Regions from separate parts of the Homo sapiens genome. Here region 2 is linked to region 1. The links are contacts of gene promoters, found by promoter capture Hi-C in blood cells and fetal thymus (Javierre and others, 2016). All regions are on one chromosome and are shown on one strand. The core of a region is centred on a gene start or on the middle of the fragment in contact, and the rest is flanking DNA. Distances in the headings are between cores, read along the strand shown.

Region 1 (4,535 bases), core at 2,036-4,535:
CCACACTTGCCATCACCATATTTGGAGTTGAATCCAATTTCTCTTCCCCACTGGAAAATCCATTGCAGTGGGCCGTCTAGCTATTGGAATGGTCCTGAATAAAGTCTGCCTTACCATGCTTTAACAAGTGTTATTGAATAATTTTTTTTAACACCTCTGAGTCTCTGTCCACCTGGAGAACCACTACAGTAACACTCAGTGAGGTACCTGTGTCATCTCTCAAGCACAGTATATTGTCATGACAGGTAGTCTGAACTCCAAGAGGTTGTTCAAATTAAACATATTTGCATTGCTTTCGTCTTTGTATAGTCCGTAATTGAAACTATCCCTCAAATAACAGGATATGCATAAAAGTTCTCTATCAATCATGAATGTACAAGGACATTCGATATGCTTTATTTTTTATTTTATTTATTTATTTATTGAGACAGAGTCTGGCTCTGTCGCCCAGGCTGGAGTGCAGTGGCGCGACCTCAGTTCACTGCAAGCTCCACCTCCCGGATTCATGCCATTCTCCTCCCTCAGCCTCCCGAGTAGCTGGGACTACAGGCACCCGCCACCAGGCTGGGCTAACTTTTGTATTTTTAGCGGAGATGGGGTTTCACGGTGTTAGCCAGGATGGTCTCCATCTCCTGACCTCGTGATCCGCCTGCCTCAGCAACCCCAAAGTGCTGGGATTATAGGCGTGAGCCACCACACCAGGCTATTTATTTTTATTTTTTATTTTTTGAGACGGAGTCTCACTCTGTCGCCCAGACTGGAGTGCAGTGGCACGATCTCGGCTCACCACAACCTCCACCTCCTGGGTTCAAGCGATTCTCCTGCCTCAGCCTCCTGAGTTGCTGGGATTACAGGTGTGCACCACTGTGCCTGGCTAATTGTTGTATTTTTAGTAGAGATGGGGTTTTGCCATGTTGGCCAGGTTGGTCTTGAACTCCTGATCTCAGATGATCTGCCTGCCTTGGCCTCCAAAGTGCTGGGGTTACAGGCATGAGCTGCCACGCCCAGCCCACACATTATTAAGATTTTAAAAAAAGCAAGCTACAGAACAGCCCTGTCCAATAGACAGAATGCAAGCCACATAGTGACTTCAAATTTCCTAATAGAAATATTTTAAGATATAAAAACAAATAGGTGAAATTAATTTTAAGAATGTATTTTATTTTACTCAGCACACCATGTATTTTATTATCATATATTTTATTATATATTTTATTATATATATACGGTGTACTGAGTAAAATAAAATACATTTTATATATATATATACATATATATATATATATATATATTTTTTTTTTTTTTTTTTTCTGAGGCAAGGTCTCATTCTGTCACCCAGGCTGGAGTGCAATGGCATGATCACAGCTCTCTGCAGCCTTGACCTCCTGGGTTCAGGTGATCTTCCTACCTCAGCCTCCCAAGTAGCTGGGACTATAGGCTCATGCCACCATGCCTGGCTAGTTTTTGTATCTTTTTGTATAGACGGGGTTTCACTATGTTGCCCAAGCTGGTCTTGAATTCCTTAGCTCAAGTGATCCATCCACCTTGGCCTCCCGAAAGGCTGGGATTACCAAAGGTGTGAGCCACCATGCCCAGCCCCAAAATATTCTTTAAACATGTAATCATACAAAATTATATGAGATATTAACATTCTTTTTTTATACTAAGTCTTCAAAACCTGATGTGTATTTTACAACACATCTTAATTCAGACCAGTCACATTTCAAGTATTCAACGGCCACTTATGACTAGTAGCTACAATATTAGACAGTGCAACTATAGACCACGTTTACTCTCCATTTTTTTAGCAACTCCCAAACCAGCTTTATACGTATTGTAATAAACATAGAAAACATTTGGAAGGGTACACAAGAAATGACTAAAAATGATTTTTTTATATAAAATGAGAATGCAGGGAGGGAAGGTGATCAGGGTTTAATTCACGTACATCTCTATTTGAATTTATTATATAAGGATATATCATATTTACTAAAAATGTAAAAGAGAAATGCTTATTCTTTGCAACACAGTCCTTGTATAGAAATCTGTCTTAAGGAAATAATCAAATATGTAAACTAACATTTATGACAAGGATGCCCTTGGCCCAAGACGTGAATAATTTTTTCTAGTGTATCCATGCTATAGACGTTACCTGCCATTACTGTATAAGAAAAAACATAGTGTACCTAGGGCTCAGTACTACCCATGGTTTCAGACATCCATAATTTCAGGCATCCACTGGAGGTCTTGGAGTGTGCTCCCTGTGGATAAGGGGGGACTACTGTATTCAACCCCACTGGAGGCTTGACTCCCTGAAAAGTGAATGGAGAAGAACAAACTGATGTGAAAAATCTTTGTCTTCCAACAAATAAACAGACAGGATCTGAGCCCTGGGGAGATCACTGAGGCTTCTCTTAACCCTTCAGTGGGTGGTATTTTCCATCTGCTCACAGGAATGTTGAGATTTTGGCTGTGGACCTTGTGTTTTGCTTAGCAAAGTTGTTTTGTGTGGATCGCACCTGACATTTTAAATTCTTCCAACAACCATAGGAGGTAAATGAAGAATTCATGCACAGTGCAAGGATAAAACTGCACAGGTTTCAGCTGCCTTGGACACCCTGTGCTTTTCAGCTATTTGTTGAATGGAACTTAAGTGCCCAATTTGTTCTGATTGGAGCAAAACTTTGTGGACTGACAAGGATGGGCGTCCAAGATGTAGGAAGTTAAAAAAAAAATGTTGCCAAACAAGGTGTAGAGCACGATCCTATCTGTGTTTTGAAATCTATGAAATTATGTATCTATGCACCTATATGTAATGTATCTATCTCTGAATGGAGGGAAAGAGCCTGACCATTACCACCCTCTACCCCTGGGAGTGAGAATGAAGTGTACAGGGAGCAGGTGCAAGGAAGAATGCTCACTTCTTACTTTATATATTTCTGTACTGTTAAAATTTTAACAGGCTGTTTTGTAAAAAAAATTTAATAAAAGCTATCAACTGTAACCAGAAGTACTTTCTGACAGTAGATGTTCTCAAACCATCTCACCAAGTGCCCAGAAAGAGTTAACACAGGAGAATTCCAGATGTTTGAAGTGAGGACAAATTCCTGCTTTGAGGGTGGGAGGTGGGCTTAGGGATGAGAGGCAATGACGGGGGAGAGGAGGAAAGAAGCTGAGGGGAGAGCTGGCTGCTGAGTTGTCATTCCAACCAATGGCATGAAAGTTTCAAGCCCAACGCCCATTTGTGGAGACTATTTCAGGAGTTAGGATTTGCATCTGAGTTCATTGCCCCTGTAACCTGTCAAAGAAGAGCTAAGGGAGCTTTCGGGGTTGGCTTCTTGGAGGCTGCTTTCTCCTTTACTTGGAAGGTAAAAATCTCAAGCCCAAGCTGATCAGGCAGTGGTGACTGATTGAGCTGTTAATTTTTTTCTTTTTGGTGTATTGATTTCTTTTTCCAGCTAGGGCTGTAACATGCTTATGGGATAAGGTTTTACTTTTACTAACAATGATATTTACATGGAACTTCTAACAAGATGGAGTGGTTCTTCCTGGTCCTCTGCAGATGACAAGAAGCATTAGGTAGATTTTCTTGGATAGGCTCGCATGGAAAGGAAGGAGAACCTATGCTTTGACTGATGAACAATTTTCATCTTATTCCTTCTTGGTTTCACATAGAGCATGGTTAAGCTTTGACAGGAATTGCAGATGCGTGTAGCAAATCCTACTTAAGTAGAATGGGTTCTTGCTTTATTTTCCATCTCAGTAAAAACTCTTAAAACTCCCCCATTCATAGTAAAGCTACTTTACAACAGAAAGTAGAAAAAAAAATAAAGAGAGAGTTTGGAAAGACACTTTTAGTGAAGTCACCCAATGTTTAGGTCCAAATGTAGCTCCTCTGTCCCCCAGCGCTATGTTATCAACATCACAGGGAACTTCTTTCCCCTCGCAGGCTTCGCTAGTGATGGACCCATACATGATTCAGATGAGCAGCAAAGGCAACCTCCCCTCAATTCTGGACGTGCATGTCAACGTTGGTGGGAGAAGCTCTGTGCCGGGAAAAATGAAAGGCAGAAAGGCCAGGTGGTCTGTGAGGCCCTCAGACATGGCCAAGAAAACTTTCAACCCCATCCGAGCCATTGTGGACAACATGAAGGTGAAACCAAATCCAAACAAAACCATGATTTCCCTGTCCATTGGTGAGTTGGGGACACTACTGAGGGGCTGTCATTGTCCTCCTCTACTCTCATGTTCACAGGCTGGTTGGAGAAGATGGCAGTTGGGGGTGAGTCTGAGTACTGAACATGGGAGAATAACCTCTTGGCTCCTTTTGTGTTTTCCTCCCATAAAAAGGGGACCCTACTGTGTTTGGAAACCTGCCTACAGACCCTGAAGTTACCCAGGCAATGAAAGATGCCCTGGACTCGGGCAAATATAATGGCTATGCCCCATCCATCGGTAAGCTCCTCCTGAGACTCCATACCTGGTGACTGCCAAATCTTTAGTGCTCTTATAACAGGACTAAATGTCTAGCAATC
Region 2 (4,458 bases), core at 1,639-4,138, 410 kb before region 1:
TTAGCCGGGCATGGTGGTGCACGCCTGTAATCCCAGCTACTGAGGAGGCTGAGGCAGGAGAATCACTTGAACCCAGGAGGCGGAGGCTGCAGTGAGCCGAGATCGTGCCACTGCACTCCAGCCTGGGAGACAGAGTGAGACTCTGTCTCAAAAAAAAAAAAAAAAAAAAAAAAAAAATCCTCTCCTTACCACTGAACATCCTCCATGACATCCACTTTCTCTCTGCTTAGCATTATTGTTTTCTTCATAGCACGTATTTAATATGTGACATAATTTGTTTCTCTGCCTCTACCACTAACACAGGGGCTCGACAAGCGCAGGAACTTGGCTCCTTTTGCTCATTGCCATATTCAGTTCTCTAGAACATTCTTAGCAACTTATAAATGTTTAAGAATTTATTGAACGATTGACAATAAATACACTAATATAAATCATGAATCTCAAGTAATATGCAGATTTCTTGAAATTTCAAAATTCTGTTTGAGCACAGAATTTTTTTTAACAGAAATGCCTATTAGTATCTCATAGGACAGAGTTTCAGAGTATTTGGGGAAATGCTGCCTTAATTATAAAATGGTAAAATCAGATTCAGTCTTTTCCTTTACATATTTTTATCTTTTAGTCCAAGACCCTGTGTCATCCCATCAGCCAGTTTCCTTCAGTACTATCAAGTATCACATCACAGGTAACATCAGCCGCATCTGAACCCAGCAGCCAGCCTCTCCCTGTGATAACACAGCTCACCATGCCCGTGTCTGTCACGCATGCTGGGCAATCTCTGGCAGAAACAACTTCAAGCCCAAAGGAAGAAGGTCATCCGAATACCTTCACCTCTTATCTACAAGTGTCATTGCAGAAGGCATCTGGTCAGGTAAACATGGGAAATTCAAGTCACAGGTAGCTTTGTGACCCCCAAAAAGTACTTGGTTCACCCATTTGCCTCCCTGCAGAACTACACCTAAGAATGCCTGACAGACCAGCGTATATGCCAATCCAAAACAAAAACTAAACAAGTCCATGGAAACAGCCAATTTGACAGCACATATACAGCCCAACGTTTCATTAATGACACTATTTAATGCTATTCTATTTAATGCTTCAGATGGGGAAGAAGTTCTGTTCACCTACCCTGCTTTTTCAGCAGCAGCAAACCTCTAGACAATTCCTCCTACTCACTGTCCCCTCTCTCCGCCTTGTTTCCTTCCTCCCAAAAACATGGACAAGGCAGCCAGGCTCACTGAGTCACGCCTATAATCCCAGCATTTGGGAGGCCAAGGTGAGAGGATCACTTGAGCCCAGGAGTTTTAGACCAGACTGGGCAACGTAGCAAGACCTTTCTCTACTAAAGTTCAAAAAAATTAGCCAGGCACAGTGGCTCACGCCTGTAATTCCAGCACTTTGGGAGGCCGAGGTGGAGGATCACGTAAGCCCGAGTTTGAGACCAGCTTAGGCAACTTTATGAGACCTTTTCTCTATTAAACTTCAAAAAAAAATTAGCCAGGTGTGGTGGCATGTGCCTGTAGTCCCAGCTACTTGGGGGTGGCGGGGCAGGGGCTGAGGTGGGAGGGTTGCTTGAGCCTGGGAGGTCCAGACTGCAGTGAGCCATGATTGTGCCACTGTATACTGTAGGCTGGGCAACAGAACAAAACTCTCTCTCAAAAAAAGGCAAAGTCCCTTTGACAGTATTGACTGAAGAAAATAATCCTGCTTCCCTCATGCTTTTTTTTCCCTAAACTCAAACGAGCCCTGTTTATATGCAGTTGAACATTTCCCTGCTAAAACAATCCTGTTCACTCTGGATCTGCTTGCAATGGTAATGGAAATTCAGTGTTCTATTTGGGGGAGAAACTGACCTACAGGAGTTTAAACAAAGATTTTTGTTTTTGTTTTTGTTTTTCTTGGAAATCCTGAAGTACAGAATATCTAAAAGGATCTATAATAAATTATTAGAAATATTAAGAGGATTTAGCAATGTCAGCATTTAATCAAGATTTCTTGAATATGTGGTTGAATTAGGCTGTGAGTGAGGTATTCTCCAGAAATGGACCATGTAGTTGGCATTAATGGTGATTGTCTCAGGGTTGGACTTTGAGTTCAAGTGCAGTAGCCACTTAAGCTTTGGGACCGCGGCCATTTGCTCAGTCTGTTTCTTAGGGCAGGGAGGTTTTCTGCTTCCCACCTCTTGCTATGAGTCATTTTAAGTCATTACCTCTTGAATATGGACTCTTTTTTTGAGACAGATTCTCGATCTGTCGCCCAGGCTGGAGTGCAGTGGCGCAATCTCGGCTCACTGCAACCTCTGCCTCCCGGGTTCAAGAGATTCTCCTGCCTCAGCCTCCCGAGTAGCTGGGACTACAGGTGTACACCACCAAGCCTGGTTAATTTTTGTATTTTTAGTAGAGACAGGGTTTTGCTATGTAGGCCAGGTTGCTCTTGAACTCCTGACCTCAAGTGATCTGCCTGCCTTAGCCTCCCAAGTGCTGGGATGACAGGCGTGAGCCATCACGCCCAGCCTTAAATACGAATACTTGAATGGAGGGAAACACACACACAGGGAAGCCTGAGAGGAAAACATACTTCTGAATAGAAAAGTTTGGTTTTGGCTTTTTAATTTCCAAGTTTCCCTCATCTTCATGGCCTTAACACTTAAAGTTACTGCTATAAATCTTATTTCCAGACTCATTTGCCCTTGGAGCAATCATTATATAATCTCGTTATTCATTTTCTCTATCGTATGGAAGAAGTAGAAATAAATTCTGTCCACTCGCAGAAAAGCTTCTGAAAGTAATCACTGTTTTAGAGAGCTGTGGTTCATAGGGTTTATAAAGTTACCCAAGGTCAACTTGGATGAAAATAATCTCCCTGACTACTACAGTACAGTAATTTTGTATGAGTAATTTTGACAACTTCTTTGTTCCCAATAGGTCATAGATGAGATAGCAGGGAACTTCAGCAGAGCAGTTCATGGTTTGCAAGCTCTTAACAAACTACAGGAAGCTTGTGAGTTCCTCCAGAAACTAACAGCCTTAACCCCAAGATTTTCTAAGCCAGCTCAGGTAAGTGGAGGGTGACTGGGAGGGAAGAAGGTAGGAGAGAGGGAAAAGCGGAAAACAGAAAAAGAGAATCTGAGGCTGGGTGCGGTGGCTCACGCCTGTAATCCCAGCACTTTAGAAGGCCGAGGCGGGCGGATCACATGAGGCCAGGAGTTCAAGACCTGACTGGGCAACATGGCAAAACCCGTCTCTACTGAAAAAACAAAAATTAGCTGGGCTCGGTGGCGGGCACCTGTAATCTCAGCTACTTGGAAGGCTGAGGCACAATAATCACTTGAACCCAGGAGGCAGAGGCAATGAGCCAAGATCCCGCCACTCCACTCCAGCCTGGGTGGCTGAGAGACTGTGTCTCCAAAAAAAAAAAAAAAAAAAAAAGAAAGAGAATCTGGAGATTGTGCCTTATGCCAAGCTTAGCATTATAAAGACTGTATTTAAATTTTAGCAAGCATATTTTTTTACCTTTAAATCTGGAAAGTTATGAATTAAATTGATCAGTAGTGACATTGTTGGATATACTGTGTTTATGTTCATTTGTTGATTAATCAGCTGGTACTGCCTTGCTGATGCATTTGTTAGAAGTCTGTCGGCATTCAGTGGAACACATTGGCTCCCACCTGTAGTCCCAGCACTTTGGGAGGCTGAATCAGGCGGATAGCTTGAGCCCAGGAGTTCGAGACCAGCCTGGGCAACATGGTGAAACCCTGTCTCTATCAAAAATACAAAACTTAACTGGGTGTGGTGGTGCTCACCTGTAGTTGCAGCTACTTGGGAGGCTGAGATGGGAGGATGGTTTGAGCCCGGAAGGTGGAGGTTGCAGTGAGCCAAGACTCTGCCACTGCACTCCAGCCTGGGTGACAGAGCCACACTCTGTCTGAAATTAAAAAGACAAAAAACTCAGCATTGGTCTTTTCTTCATTCCTTTTTTTAGTCTGATGGTATTAATTGGATATTTGGTCTACTCACCACTCAAAAAGAATTGTCAGTTTGTCAGAATAACATGAAATATGAATCCTCCCTTATAGGTTATATGAAATAATATATTCTCCTTCCCTGTCAAATTGTAACTTTTTTTTTATAAAATGCATTTGAAATGTATAACGAATATTAAGCTGCTAATAAGAAGTATGCAAATTGAAAATAATCATGTGCTAGGTGTGTGGCTCATGTCTGTAATCTAAACACTTTGGGAGGCCAAGACAGGAGGATCTCTTGGGGCCAGGTGTTTGAGACCAGCCTGGGCAATACAGTGAGCCCCTGCCTCTACAAAAAATTTTTAAAAATTAGGTGTGGTGGTACCCACCTGTGTCCTAGCTACTGGGGAGGCTGAGGAAGGAGGATTGCTTGAGTCCAGAAGTTCGAGGCTGCAGTGAGGCATGATTGTACCACTGCACTCCAGACGGGGCAA

The links. The method cuts DNA at HindIII sites, captures the fragments that hold promoters and counts their contacts. A CHiCAGO score of 5 or more calls a contact.
Region 2: a contact is called between a fragment that was not itself captured here and the fragment with the promoter of TAT in region 1, in 2 of 17 cell types (total CD8 T cells and naive CD8 T cells). The highest score is 5.8, in total CD8 T cells.

What each region holds. Positions count from the first base shown.
Region 1 is chr16:71,575,842-71,580,376 of GRCh38, reverse strand. It overlaps TAT (tyrosine aminotransferase), which reads left to right and starts at 3,285. Exons shown (of 12, transcript NM_000353.3): 1 at 3,285-3,368; 2 at 3,950-4,196; 3 at 4,351-4,455. The coding sequence starts at 3,962. The HindIII fragment of the contact is 5,727 bases long and covers 1-3,689 here.
Region 2 is chr16:71,982,634-71,987,091 of GRCh38, reverse strand. It overlaps PKD1L3 (polycystin 1 like 3, transient receptor potential channel interacting), which reads left to right. Exons shown (of 30, transcript NM_181536.2): 5 at 623-871; 6 at 2,925-3,056. Among named protein-coding and RNA genes, the nearest start is that of PKD1L3, 16 kb to the left of the region's middle. The HindIII fragment of the contact is 222 bases long and covers 2,778-2,999 here.